Linked DNA regions of Homo sapiens: region 2 is linked to region 1. Evidence: promoter capture Hi-C in human tissues and cell types (Jung and others, 2019). All regions are on one chromosome and are shown on one strand. The core of a region is centred on a gene start or on the middle of the fragment in contact, and the rest is flanking DNA. Distances in the headings are between cores, read along the strand shown.

Region 1 (7,634 bases), core at 1,392-3,891:
CCCTGATGGTACCAAGGGCATCACCCTAAATGTGCACCTCAACACCTCCCCTCCTTACCAAGGTTCAGAGCAGCACTCCCCACCCCGCCCTCCCTTACAGGCCACATCTGCCCAGGTGAGAAGTTCTACCAGGCTTTCCCAAACTAGACGGCATCCATCCCATGTCCACTGCAGTCTGCCTAGCTCCATGATGACGATGCCACCACCTCTCTGGACTTTATAAGTATTACTTCTACCACTACTATTACTGTTACTGCAATTACTACTAATAGTATTAGTACTATCACTCCTCCTGCCCTCTCCCACCCCCACTGGCATCTTGTCCAAATCTGCCTTAGGTTTTCTTGCCTCGGTGCCCTTATCTGGGCTGCTCCTGCCACTTGGACCAACATCATGAGCCCCTCCCTACTTTCTGAGCACAGTTCAGGGGCCCTCCATGCAGGAGACCATCCCAGAATGACCCATACAAAAGGGATCCTGCCCTCTGGATCCTCATCTCAGGGCCAAGGCCTTGTTCCTTGCTGGATCGGGGAGGCTCTTAAAGTTGTTTCTTGTACCTGCAGGGACTGGGAGGTTCCTGAGCCCATCACATGTATTGATCATAAAGAACCCCTCTCCCATCCCTCCTGACTGTCTCCCATCCAGGCCAGCTTGGTCTCAGGCGGAGCCCCTCTGTGGCCTCTCCTGCCAGGTCACATTTCAGGCCTCTCTATCCCCTGGCCTGCCACTCTGCCCCAATCCTGCCAAGAGGAAGGGGTTTGGTGCTGGAGTCCGAGGCTGCTCCCGGGAAAATGGCAGCAGTGGGGTGGGCGTGCAGAGCAGAGAAAGCCTCTATTTATAAAGCTCTCAGCTCCCTCCCTCCCACCCCGAGGCTGGGGCCTGACTGCTGGCTCCCACTCCAGTAACAGTGACCCTGTGGGGCAGCTCCCACCAAGCGGAGCCACACCTAGGCCCTGCCCTGCCTAGGTCCTGAGAGCCCTGGCCAGGTCAGGCAGCAGGGCCCCAGCCCTAGCAGGGAACTGGCAGATCAGGTTCTTCCCAGATGTGGGAGATAGTGTGGTTGCCATACCAACAGCAGAGTGGGTTCCCCCCTCCCAGATGGACTGGGGCCGTCCAATCCGAGGGGCTCTGGGATCCTGGCATCTCCACTAGGGCTGGGGCTGCCCACCAGACTTGGAACACATTAAGCAGTGAATTCTCGCTGGGATGCTAATCCTCAGCGGGACACAGCACCTTCTAGTAAACATGACTACATGGGTTGCTGGCTGGGTGTGGGCTCCTGGGGAGGGGAGTGCCCGGGTTGGGGGTGGGGAGAGAACTGTACTCAACAGAAACAACAACGATGACAACGACAACGACAAAGACAAGACTACAGGACCTGCTCCCAGAACCCTGGGATGGGCCAGCCCCGGGCCTGCGGAATCCCACTGAATCCCATAACCACGGTGTTACACCAGATTTACAGAAGGGGAGGGCGGGGCTCTGAGAGAAGTGACTTGTCCAAGGTCACATGCTGCACAGGTGCAATATTAACCACTTTGACACCAATAATGAGCTTGCCTTTGGTGAGCACACATATGCAGAGTCCCACAGAATCCTCGCATCTGTCCTGGGAGGCAGGAATACTGATCCCATTTTTCAGACTGAGAAACTGAGGCCCAGTGAGATGAAGGCCCCTCCCCCAAGGTCACAGGAGGGCACATTCCCACCCACACCTGACCCTAGGTCTTCCCATGATGTTGAGTTGCCTGTTACTCTCTGCCCCTAAACGGATAGGACTTCTTCCAATCTCAGCATCGTGGGCCTGGACAGCTTCCCAGCCAGACCCCAGCCCTCTCTCCATCCCCCAGGCCCAGGGACCAAGGAAACAGACCTCCCGTGGAGCAGAAAAGAAACAACTCCTGGCTTCCGGCCTGACTATCCAAACGTGTGAAATGGCCATGAGGGACTCATGGCACCAGCCGCCCATTGCACAGGTGCGGAGACTGAGGCTCGGAGAAGGGGTTGTGGTGGACGCATGAGTCCCTGGGCCTGGGACCCAGGTCGCTAAATGCCCCGCCAGGCGCCAGTCACTGCTGGACAAGGGCAGGGAGGTAGCACCCAGCCGGTGCCTCCTCCCCTCCTCAGCCAGGCAGGCGCCAGGGGAGCAGGGTAACCCAACCAGCCCAAAGGGTGGGCACCGGTGCCTCGCCCCAGGCAGCAGGGCCAAGGCCCGGCTCGGGCCGCACGGGCTCTTTCCCTCTTCCGGTCAGCAAGGGCTCAGGGGGGCAGAGGTGTGCCGCGGCGGGGACGAGGGCAGCAGCCCGGGAGGGCTTTCCCGCGTCCCCAGGCGTCTGCCGCAGGGTGCTCCCCGCCCGCCGCACATCCGGGCCCCCGGCGCACGGCGCGACGCCAGGCCTCACCTGCACCGCCCGGGTGAAGAAGATGCCCGCGTCCGACGCCAGCTTCTTCATGTTGAAGTCCATGGCGTGCCCGCACGGCCGCCGCGCACGGCCCGAGCGCAGCCGGCAGCCCCCGGCCCAGCCGCCGCCGCCAACCGCACCCCGCCCACCTGCTGCGGGGCACCAGCCCTCCGCGCACCCGCCTGCCGGCCTGCCCGCCTGCCCGCCCGCCGCAGCCGCCGAGCCAGCCCGAGCGCGCAGGGCGGGGCGCGGAGGCCGCGGGTCGGAGCCAGAGGGGCGGGGGCGGAGCTGGCGGTGCCGGGGCGGGACGGGACGGCAGTGGGGCGGAGCTAGAGGGGCGGGGGCCGGGCTGGTTGGCGGAAGCCGGGCGGAGTCGGAGGGGGCGGGACTGGCGGGACAGGGGCGGAGCGAGAGGGCAGTGGGGCGGAGCTACATGGGTGGGGGCGAGGCCTTGGCGCGGCCAGAGCGGGGGTTGGTCTGGGGAGCAGGTTGTGCTGGGCAGGGCTCGCTGCTGGGCAGTGCTCGCTGCTGCCCCCATGCGCCTGCCGCCGCGGATTGGGCCGGCCTCTTTTTTTCCTTTTACTAAAATTATTAAAACTGGAACACATGTGCTCTTAGATGATTGCAGGTACACGCCATAATTACATATTATTTGCCATCTTACCAATGCTTTTCAAAAGTTTTAATTGATAAATATATATTTACGGCCTACAAGGTGATGAAATTGTGGAATGATGAAATCAAGTTAATTGACATATCCATCACCTCACCTACTTTTTTTGTGGTTAGAACATTTCAAATGTACTCTTTTAGCAATTTTGAAATATGCAATACTTTTTTTTTTTTTTTGTAGACAGAGTCTTGCTCTGTCGCCCAGGCTGGAGTGCAGTGGCGCGATCTCGGCTCACTGCAGCCTCCACCTGCCGGGCTCAAGCGATTCTCCTGCTTCATTCAGCCTCCCGAGTAGCTGGGACTACAGGCGCCCACCAACATGCCCCGCTAATTTTTTGTACTTTAGGAGAGACAAGGTTTTGCCATGTTGCCCAGGGTGGTCTTGAACTCCTGATCTCAGGCAATCTGCCTGCCTCAGTCTCCCAAAGTCACTAAGTGACTGAGTAGTCACCAATATGTGCAACAGATCTCTAAAATGGGCCTCTCTTGCTTTCTCCTCCCACCACCCAGGCCTGCTGCCTCTCCCCTGTTTGTGCCTCTTCATCTCCGCTCTTTATTCACACCCCCTCCCTCCCATTCCCATTTCTTCCACTCTGTTTCCCTTGGGTTTCCTCCCGTTACTCCTCCTCTCTGACCTCTCCTCCTCTCTTCTGCCCTGACCTTGGTGACTGAGCCGGAGTCAGGCTTGGGACTTGCCCTCCACCGCTGGAACAGCTGTTTGTCAGCCTGGGAGGCCCTGTGGCTTCCCCAAATTGGAGGAGGGTTGGGGTGGCGGTCACGGGAAGGGAGGGGGTTCTGGAGCTGGGGCCTGGAGCCCCCTGTGTGGTGAGAGGAGGAGATCAAAGGTTGGGTGACTGTCAGGGTGGAGAGAATGAGCTGCCCTGGGAGCACAGATGTGTGATAACCTTGAAACCAGCTCCTCACAGCCCCAGGCAAGGAGATGACCTACAGGTGCTCCTGACCCCAAATGCCTTCCCTTGGGGCTCAGATAGAGGCTTTGTACTGGTCTTCACCTCTCCTTGCTGTCTACCTCTAGGTTTCCTCTTTTTTTTTTTTTTTCTTTTTGAGATGGAGTCTCGCTCTTTCACCCAGGCTGGAATGCAGTGGCACCATCTCAGCTCACTGCAGCCACCGCCTCCCGGGGTCTAAGCGATTCTCCTGCCTCACCCTCCACAGTAGCTGGGATTACAGGCATGTGCCACCACGCCCGGCTGATTTTTGTATTTTTAGTAGAGACGGGGTTTCACCATGTTGGTCAGGCTGGTCTTGAACTCCTGACCTCGTGATCCACCTGCCTCCGCCTCCCAAAGTGCTGGGATTACAGGTGTGAGCCACCACGCCCGGCCTAGGTTTCACCTTTGAACCCAGTGGAGAGCTCTGTTCCCAAGCTGTACCCTCTTCTATCTGGCTTTGTTCATCTTTCTATACTTACCCCAGTTTCTGTCACCTATCCCAGCATGGCTCTGCAGGGTGAGCCTCAAGTCACCTGGGGGCTTGTTCAAAATCCAGACCCTGTTCCCTCTCCCAGCCCTGGTTCTGGGTCAACAAGTCAATGGCTCTAACATTAAATCACCTGGGAGCTTTCAAAACTCCACCTACCTGGGCCATCCTGTCATGTACTTGGGCCAGTATGTACATGTTGCCTTCATCAACTTTCATGTCATTCACACATCTGCAATCCCTCAACTCTGATTCTCTGTGTTTCTGTTTTTGTGTTCACTATGTGTTTGTTTCTATTTGTCTGTATTGATCATGGACTTATTTACTATCATCTGTTTATAGCTGACTATATCATTCATTTAGCCAGTGTTAACTTTAAAAAAATCTAGTCAGGCATGGTGGCTCATACATGTAATCCCAGGAGGCCAAGGCGGGCGAATCACCTGAGATCAGGAGTTCAAGACCAGCTGACCAAGATAGAGAAACTCTGTCTCTACTAAAAATACAAAATTAGCCAGGCGTGCTGGCGCATGCCTATAATCCCAGCTACTTGGGAGGCTGAGGCAGGAGAATCGCTTGAACCCGGGAGGCAGAGGTTGCGGTCAGCTGAGATAGCGCCATTGCACTCCAGCCTGGGCAACAAGAGAGAAACTCCATCTCAAAAAAAAAAAAAAAAAAAAAAAAAAGAAATCAAGATGTAGGCCAGGTGCGGTGGCAAACGCCTGTAATCCCAGCACTCTGGGAGGCCGAGGCAGGCGGATCACCTGAGGTCAGGAGTTCGAGACCAGCCTGGACAACATGGTGAAACCCCATCTCTACTAAAAATACCAAAAATTAGCTGGGCGTGGTGGTGTAGGCCTGTAGTTCCAGCTACTAGGGAGGATGAGGCAGGAGAATAGCTTGGACCGAGGAGGCAGAGGTTGCAGTGAGACGAGGTCACGCCATTGCACTCCAGCCTGGGCAACAGGAACGAAACTCCGGCCAGGCATGGTGGCCCACACGTGTAATCCCAGCACTTTGGGAGGCCAAAGCGGGTGGATCACGAGGTCAGGAGTTCAAGACCAGCCTGGCCAAGATGGTGAAACTCCTTCTCTACTGAAAATCCAAAAATTAGCCAGGCGAGGTGGTGTGCATCTGTAGTCCCAGCTACAAGGGAGGCTGAGGCAGGAGAATAGCTTGAATCCAGAAGGCAGAGGTTGCAGTGAGCCGAGATCATGCCACTGCACTCCAGCCTAGGCTACAGAGCGAGACTCCTCCTCAAAAAAAAGGAAAAAAAAAAGTGAAACTCGATCTCAAAAAAAAAAAAATCAAGATGTATACATTTAAAGAAGGAAAGAAGATTTTATTTCTTATAAAAGGGTACAGACTGCAAGGTGACCATCCCACAAATTGGGAAGCATGCCTGTGACAGAGGCAGGAGGCAGAGAAATACTAGGCAGACAGGGGCGGGTCCCTGGCAAAACCCTACCTTCCAGCTGAAAAGCCTGAATCCTGTGGCCCAAAGTGAGAATTTCTATCCATCCGTTTGCCTGCTCTCTCCTGATTGGTTCTTTCTGAATCGTGCCTTTTTACCAATCAGATGTTGCCTTTTCCAAAACTACCTACAGCCCACCCCACCTCCCATCCTGTACCTATAAAGACCCACCCCCCCCAGACCCCAGACTCAGTTGGTAGGGAGAGAGAAGTGGCTTGACTAGAGAGAGGCGACTTTACTTCAGAGTGAAGAAGCTAGACTTCAGAGGAGAAATGGCTTAACTTCAGGGAGATGGCTTGACTACAGGGAAGAGCCATCCAGAGAGGCCAGGCTTCAGGGGAAGATTACCTGCCCGTCCCATCTCCTCTCCAGTTCACCTCTCTGCTGAGAGTCATTTCTACTGCTTAATAAAATTCTCGCCTGGCGCGGTGGCTCACACCTGTAATCCCAGCACTTTGGGAGGCCGAGGCGGGCAGATCATGAGGTCAGGAGATGGAGACCATCCTGGCTAACACAATGAAACCCCGTCTCAACTAAAGATACAAAAAATTAGCTGGGCGTGGTTGTGGTGGGTGCCTGTATTCCCAGCTACTTGGGAAGCTGAGGCAGGAGAATCACTTGAACCTGGGAGGCAGAGGTTGCAGTGAGCCAAGATCAGGCCACTGCACTCCAGCCTGGGCGACAGAGCAAGACTCTGTCTCAAAATAAATAAATAAATAAAAATAAAATAAAATAAAATAAAATTCTCCTCCTTTGCTATCCTTCAAGTGTCCAGGTGACCTCATTCTTCTTGGACACTAGACGAGAGCTCAGGACCCACCAAGTGCGGGTACCCGAAAAAGGTCGTCATACTGGCCCTCTGCCCTCACTGGCAGAGAGCAGCCACCCCACGTGGCAAAGCAAGGAGCCTACCGAGCTGATAACACACTGCTGTCCATGGACAGCAGAGCTAAGAGAGCACTGTAACATGTCCTCTGGGGCTTCAGGGTTTGCAGGCACCCCGACCTGGGCACCGCCATGGGGCCTGCATGGAGCCTCCTTCTGCCCACGCCCAGAGCAGCCAGCGGGATCCTGCACTTGCTCGCCCACATGCTCCCTCCCACAAGGGTTGAGCATGGCGGGCTGGCCTAGACAGGGCACCCCCATCGCAAGTCCAACAAAGAAGTCAAGAAAAATCCTGCATCGCCTCCAGGAAGGAGGAGAACTTGTGGTAGGAGCTTTATGCTGAATAGGTTGACTAAACATACATATTCAACAGGTTGCAGGAGGTGCTATGAATATTCATCAAGGTGGTCCCATGTTCACTTTGTGGTGAATTAATATTTAGATGTATTACAATTAGGCCCTATATGTCAAGAGGATTGTTTAGGGACATGAAGGCACACAACGGCCAATCTCTGCAAAATGGCCAGAACTGGTCCATGGCCAGTGGTCTAATTCTTTTTTTTTTTTTTTTTTTTTAAGACAGGGTCTCGCTCTGCCACCCAGCTGGAGTGCAGTGTTACAATCACGGCTCACTGCAGCCTCAACCTCCTGGGCTCAAGCGATTGATCATCCCGCCTCAGCCTCCCAAGGAACTGGGACCGCAAGTTATAGAGACGGCGTTTTGCTGTGTATTGACCAGCCTGATCTCCAACTCCTGGATT
Region 2 (7,634 bases), core at 1,784-4,283, 170 kb before region 1:
CAAAAACAAAAATCTTCCAGTTCTTAAAATTGATTACTTGGATTTTACCTAAAATTACCAGATATAAACCTTTAGAAAATGCTCTGATGGCGTTTACTGATTGTTCCAGCAATGGAAAAGTGGCTTAAACTGGGCCAAAAGAACAAGTCATTGAAACTCAATATCACTCAGCTCAAAGAGCAGAGTTGGTTGCTGTCATTTCAGTGTTACAAGGTTTTAATCAGCCTATTAACATTGTTTCAGATTCTGCATATGTAGTACAGGCTACAAAGGATGTTGAGACAGCCCTAATCAAATATAGTATGGATGATCAGTTAAATCAGCTGTTTAATTCGTTACAACAAACTGTAAGAAAAAGAAATTTCCCATTTTATATTACTCATATTCGAACACATACTAATTTACCAGGGCCTTTAACTAAGGCAAATGAACAAGCTGACTTGCTAGTATCATCTGCATTCATAAAAGCATAAAAACTTCGTGCCTTGACTCATGTAAATGCATCAGGACTAAAAAATAAATTTGATATCATATGAAAACAGGCAAAAAATGTTGTACAACATTGTACTCAGTGTCAAGTCCTACATGTGCCCACTCAGGAGGCAGGAGTTAATCCCAGAGGTTTATGTCCCAATGCATTATGGCAAATGGATGTCACACATGTACCTTCATTTGGAAAATTGTCATTTGTCCATGTGACAGTTGATACTTATTCACATTTCATATGGGCAACCTGCCAGACAGGAGAAAATACTTCCCATGTTAAAAGACATTTATTATCTTGTTTTGCTGTCATGGGAGTTCCATAAAAAATTAAAACAGATAATGGGCCAGGATACTGTAGTAAAGCATTTCAAAAATTCTTAAATCAGTGGAAAATTACACACACAACAGAAATCCCTTATAATTCCCAAGGACAGGCCATAATTGAAAGAAGTAATAGAACACTCAAAGCTCAATTGGTTAAACAAAAAAAGGAAAAGGACAGTAAGGAATATAACACTCCCCAGATGCAACTTAATCTAGCACTCTATACTTTAAATTTTTTTAACATTTATAGAAATCAGACCGCTACTTCTGCAGAACAACATTTTACTGGTAAAAAGAACAGCCCACATGAGGAAAAACTGATTTGGTAAAAAGACAACAAAAATAAAACATAAAAAATAGAGAAGGTGATAACGTGGGGGAGAGGTTTTGCTCGTGTTTCACCAGGAGAAAATCAGCTTCCAGTTTGGGTACCTACAACTTACAGAAAAAGTTGCCATCCACCAAAAAAGCGAAGCCGCCGACCTGGGCCCAGCTAAAGAAGCTGACACAGTTAGCTGAAAAAAGCCTAAAGTACACAAGGGTAACACAAACTCCAGAGAATATGCTGCTTGCAGCTTTAATGATTGTATCAATGGTGGTAAGTCTCACTATGTCTGCAGGAGCAGCTGCAGCTAATTATACTTACTGGGCCTATGTGCCTTTCCCGCCCTTAATTCAGGCAGTCACTTGGATGGATAATATTCTATTGAAGTATGTGTTAATATTAGTGCATGGGTACCAGGACCCACAGATGACCGCGGCCCTGCCCAACCTGAAGAAGAAGGAATGATGATAAACATTTCCACTGGGTATCATTATCCTCCTATTTGCCTGGGGAAAGCACCAGGATGCTTAATGCCTACAACCCAAAATTGGTTGGTAGAAGTATCTACTGTCAGTGCCACCAATAAATTTACTTATCATATGGTAAGTGGAATGTCACTTGGGTCACAAATGAATAATTTACAGGACTCTTCTTATCAAAGATCATTAAAATTTAGGCCTAAGGGGACCTTGCCTCAAGGAAATTCCCAAAGAATCAAAAGACCCAGAAGTCTTAGTTTGGGAAAAATATGTGGCTGATACTGTGGTGGTATTACAAAACAATAAATTTGGAACTATTATAGACTGGGCCCCTCAAAACCAATTATATTATGGTTGTATGGGCCAGACTCACTCATGTTCACAGACCCCATCTGTCTGGCCCACTAATCCGGCCTATGATAGTGATTTAACTGAAAGGCTAGACCAGGTTTATAGAAGGCTAGAATCACCCTATCCATGGAAATGGGGTGAAAAGGGGATTTCATCACCTCAACCAAAGTTAGTTAGTCCTGTTACTGCTCCTGAACATCCAGCATTATGAAAGCTTACTGTGGCCTCGCACCACATTAGAATTTGGTCTGGAAATCAAGTTATCGGAACAAGAAATCATAAGCCACATTATACTATTAACCTAAATTCCAATCCGACAATTCCTTTGCAAAGTTGTGTAAAACCCTCTTATATGCTAGTTGTAGGAAACATAGTTATTAAACCAGATTCCCAAACTATAACCTGTGAAAATTGTAGATTGTTTACTTGCATTGATTCAACTTTTGATTGGCAGCACCATATTCTGCCAGTGAGGGCAAGAGAGGGTGTGTGGATCCCTGTGTCCATGGACCGACCGTGGGAGGCTTCCCCATCCATCCATATTTTAACAGAAGTATTAAAAGGAGTTCTAACTAGATCCAAAAGATTCATTTTTTACTTTAATTGCAGTGATTATGGGTCTTATTGCAGTCACAGCTACTGCTGCGGCTGCTGGAATTGCTTTACACTCCTCTGTTCAAACTACAAAATATATAAATAATTGGCAAAAGAACTCCTCAAAATTGTGGAATTCTCAGACTCAAATAGACCAAAAATTGGCAAACCAAATTAATGATCGTAGACAAACTGTCATTTGAATGAGAGATAGGCTCATGAGCTTAGAATATCTTTTTCAGTTACAGTGTGACTGGAATATGTCAGATTTTTGTATTACACCTCGAGCCTATAATGAATCTGAACATCACTGGGACATGGTTAGACGCCATCTACAAGGAAGAGAAGATAACCTTACTTTAGATATTTTAAAATTAAAATAACAAATTTTTGAGGCATCAAAAGCCCAGTTCAATCTGGTGCCAGAAACTGAGGCAATGGTGAAAGCTGCTGATGGCCTCACAAATCTTAACCCCATCACTTGGGTTAAAACCACTGGAAGTTCCACTATTGCAAATTTTGTATTAATCCTTGTATGTCTGTTCTCTGTTGCTGGTCTACAGGTGTATCCAGCAGCTCCAGAGAGACAGCAACCAGCGAAAACAGGCCATAATGACTATGGCGGTTTTGTCAAAAAGAAAAGGGGGATATGTACGGCAAAGAAAGAGAGATCAGACTGTTACTGTGTCTATGTAGAAAGGGAAGACATAAGAAATTCCATTTTGACCTGTACCTTGAACAATTGCTTTGCTGAGATGTTGTTAATTTGTAACTTTGCCCCAGCCACTTTGCCCCAACTTTGAGCTCACAAAAACATGTGTTGTCTGGAATCAAGGTTTAAGGGATCTAGGGCTGTGCAGGATATGCCTTGTTAACAAAATGTTTACAAGCAGTATGCTTGGTAAAAGTCATCGCCATTCTCTAATCTCAATAAACCAGGGGCACAACGCACTGCGGAAAGCCGCACGGACCTCTGCCTTGGAAAGCCACGTATTGTCCAAGGTTTCTCCCCATGTGATAATCTGAAATATGGCCTTGTGGGATGAGAAAGACCTGACTGTCCCCCAGCCCAACACCCGTAAAGGGTCTGTGCTGAGGTAGATTAGTAAAAGAGGAAAGCCTCTTGAAGTTGAAATAGAGGAAGGCCACTGTCTCCTGCCTGCCCCTGGGAACTGAATGTCTCGGTATAAAACCTGATTATACATTTGTTCAATTCTGAGATAGGAGAAAAACCGCCCTATGGCGGGAGGCGAGACATGTTGGCAGCAATGCTGCCTTGTTATTCTTTACTCCACTGAGATGTTTGGGCGGGGAGAAACATAAATCCGGCCTACGTGCACATGCAGGCATAGTACCTCCCCTTGAACTTAATTATGACATAGATTCTTTTGCTCACATGTTTTTTTGCTGACCTTCTCCTTATTATCACCCTGCTCTCCTACTGCATTCCTCTTGCTGAGATAATAAAAATAATAATCAATAAAAAGTGAGGAAACTCAGAAACCGATGCTGGTGCAGGTCCTTGATATGCTGCTTGCCAGTCTCCTGGGCCCACTGTTGTCTCTATACTTCATCTCTGTGTCTTACTTCTTTTCTCAGTCTCTCGTCCCACCTGATGAGATACCCACAGGTGTGGAGGGACAGGCCACCGCTTCACTCAGCTTCCCAAAGTGCTGAAATTACATGCGTGAGCCATGTGCCCTGCCCCATACACAAAAATTAATTCAAAGTGAATCACATAACTAAATGTATGGGCTGGGGACGGTGTCTCACGCCTGTAATCCCAGCACTTTGGGAGGCCAGGGCAGGCGGATCATAAGGTCAGGAGATCAAGACCATCCTGGCTAACACAGTGAAACCCCGTCTCTACTAAAAATACAAAAAATTAGCTGGGCGTGGTGGTGGGCACCTGCAGTCCCAGCTGCTCTGGAGGCTGAGGCAGGAGAATGGCGTGAACCCGGGAGGCGGAGCTTGCAGTGAGCAGAGATCACGCCACTGCACTCCAGCCTGGGCGACACAGCGAGACTCCGTCTCAAAACAAACAAACAAACAAAAAACAAAACTAAATGTATGAACTAAAACAAGAAAACTAGAAGAAAACATAGGAATAAATCTCTGTGACCTTGGGGTTCTAGACATAACATCCAAAGCATACACAACAAAAGAAAAAATAAACTGGACCTCATCAAAATTAAGAACTTTTGTGCTTCAAGGATACCCATTAAGAAAATGAAAAGACAGCCCATGGAATGGAAGGAAATATCTGCAAATCATAAATCTGAATGTTTCCAAAAAAGATACACAAACAGCCAAGGCTGGGCACGGTGGCTCACGTCTGTAATCCCAGCACTTTGGGAGGCTGAGGTGGGTGGGTCACCTGAGGTCAGGAGTTTGAGACCAGCCTGGCCAACACGACAAAACCCCATCTCTACCAAAAATACAAAAATTAGCTGGGCGAAGTCACATGCACCTGTAGTCCCAGCTACTTAGGAGGCTGAGGTACGAGAATCGCTTGAGCTCAGGAGGCAGAGGTTGCAATGAGCCAAAATTGCTCCACTGCACTCCAGCCTGGGCAACAGAGTGAGACCATGTATAAAAAAAAAAAAAAAAAAAAGCCCGGGCATGGTGGCTCATACCTGTAATCACAGCACTTTGGGAGGCCAAGGCGGGCAGATCACCTAAGGTCAGGAGTCTGAGACCAGCCTGACCAATATGATGAAACCCCATCTCTACTAAAACTACAAAAATTAGCCAGGCGTGATGGCATGCACCTGTAATCCCAGCTACTTGGAAGGCTGAGACTGGAGAATCACTTGAATCCGAGAGTCGGAGGTTGCAGTGAGCCACTGCACCATTGCACTCCAGCCTGGGCAACAAAAGTGAAATTCCATCTCAAAAAACAAAAAAAGAAAAAGAATGTTTTAGGCCAGGCCCGGTGGCTCACGCTTATAATTCCAGCACTTCGGGAGGCTGAGGTGGGCAGATCACTTGAGGTCAGGAGTTTGAGACCAGACTGGCCAACACGGTGAAATCCTGTCTGTACTAACAACACAAAAATTAGCTGGACATGGTGGCTCATACCTGTAATCCCAGCTACTCGGGAGGCTGAGGCAAGGGAATTGCTTGGAGGCTAAAGTGAGCTGAGATTGTGCGTTGCACTCCAGCCTGGGTGACAGAACAAGACTCCATCTCAAAAAAAAAAAAAAAGCAAAGAAAAGAAAAGAAAGAAAAAGAGTATTTTGGAGGAATGCTCTGGCATACTTAAAAATAGTTACCCTTGGCCAGGCACGGTGACTCACGCCTGTAATCCCAGCATTTTGGGAGGCCAAGGCAGGCGGATCACGAGGTCAGGAGATCGAGACCATCCTGGCTAACACGGCGAAACCCTGTCTCTACTAAAAATACAGAAATTAGCCAGGTGTGGTGGTGGGCACCTGTAGTCCCAGCTACTCGGGAGGCTGAGGCAGGAGAATGTCGTGAACCCAGGAGGCTGAACCTGCAGTGAGCTGAGATCGCGCCACTGCACTCCAGCCTGGGCAACAGAGGGAGACTCCGTCTCAACAACAAAAAAAAAAGTTACTCTCAGCTGGGTGCAGTGGCTCCTGCCTGTAATCCCAGCACTTTGGGAGGCTGAGGTGGGTGGATCACCTGAGGTCAGGAGTTTGAGACCAGCCTGGTCAACATGGTGAAACCCCATCTCTACTAAAAATACAAAAATTAGCTGGGTGTGGTGGCGCATGCCTGTAATCTCCCAGCTACTCAGGAGGCTGAGACAGGAGAATTGCTTGAACCCAGGAGGTGGAGGTTGCAGTGAGCCGAGATCGTGCTGGTGAGCCACCTTGCCCAGCCATTTTTTTTTTTTTTTGAGACAGAATCTCGCTCTGTTGCCCAGGCTGGAGCGCAGTGGCGCGATCTCGGCTCACTGCAAGCTCTGCCTCCCAGGTTCACACCATTCTCCTGCCTCAGCCTCCTAAGTAGCTGGGACTACAGGTGCCCGCCATCACACCCAGCTAATTTTTTGTATTTTTAGTAGAGACAGGGTTTCACCGTGTTAGCCAGGATGATCTCGATCTCCTGACCTCGTGACCCACCCGCCTCGGCCTCCCAAAGTGCATGAGAGGGGATTTATAGGGAAATTGACTCACGCAATTAATGGAGGCTGAGAAGTCCCCTGAGAGACTATTTGCAAGAGGTGCCAGTAGCGTGGCTCAGTCCAAGTCTGCAAGCCTCAGAACCAGGGACGCCACTGGGATAATTCTCAGTCCAAGGCTGAAGAGCCTAGAGTTTTGATATCCAAAGGGCAGGAGAAGGAGAATCTTCCAGCTCCAGGAGAGACAGAGACAGAAAGAGGAAAATTTTCTCCTCTTTTGTTTTTATTCAAGCCGTGAACCAATTGCATACTGCCACCCACATTGAGAGCGGATCTTCCCCACTCAGTCCACTGACTCCCACGCCAATCTCCTCTGGAAACACCCTCACAGACACACCCAGAAGTCATGTTTCACCATTCTCTAGGTATTCCTTACTCCAGTCCAGCTGCCACCTAACATTAACCAGCAGCACACATCCACGCTGCCAGACATTCGTCAGTTGCAGTTCAGGTTTTCCCACCCAGGTGCTGATTCCAGGGAAGGTTTCTGCTCTGGCAAATCATGATTCTCTGTATCTACCTTTCTGCCTCTCCAGTTTGGGGGCAGCAGGTTACCCTGTGACCTAATTTTCTGATGAACTGAAAAAGAGCCGCTGGTTTTTCAGTTTGTTCAGCCTTTTTTTTTTTTTTTTGAAACGGAGTCTTGCTTTGTCGCCCAGGGTGGAGTGCAGTTGCGCAATCTCGGCTCACTGCAAGCTCCGCCTCCTGGGTTCAAGCGATTCTCCTGCCTCAGCCTAAGTAACTGGGATTACAGTCGCATTCCACCATGCCTGGCTAATTTTTGTATTTTTAGTAGAGATGGGGTTTCACTATGTTGGTCAGACTGGTCTCGAACTCCTGACCTTAGGTGATCTGCCCACCTCGGCCTCCCAAAGTGCTGGGATTACAGTTGTGAGCCACTGCCTCCGGCCCACACGCATTTATT

What was found. The method cuts DNA at HindIII sites, captures the fragments that hold promoters and counts their contacts. A contact is called where the count stands out against the background at its distance.
Region 2: a fragment that was not itself captured here is called in contact with the fragment with the promoter of SH3GLB2 in region 1 in 1 of the 25 tissues and cell types used here (dorsolateral prefrontal cortex).

What each region holds. Positions count from the first base shown.
Region 1 is chr9:129,025,690-129,033,323 of GRCh38, forward strand. It overlaps SH3GLB2 (SH3 domain containing GRB2 like, endophilin B2), which reads right to left and starts at 2,642. Exons shown (of 11, transcript NM_020145.4): 1 at 2,403-2,642. The coding sequence starts at 2,465. RefSeq lists enhancers at 503-1,066, 1,067-1,630, 1,631-2,194, 2,879-3,618, 3,619-4,358 and silencers at 911-1,142, 2,025-2,534, 2,575-3,004. The HindIII fragment of the contact is 26,388 bases long and covers 1-7,634 here.
Region 2 is chr9:128,853,243-128,860,876 of GRCh38, forward strand. The region is part of intron 1 of KYAT1-SPOUT1 (KYAT1-SPOUT1 readthrough); the gene reads right to left. The region is part of intron 1 of KYAT1 (kynurenine aminotransferase 1); the gene reads right to left. Among named protein-coding and RNA genes, the nearest start is that of KYAT1, 25 kb to the right of the region's middle. The HindIII fragment of the contact is 3,957 bases long and covers 1,056-5,012 here.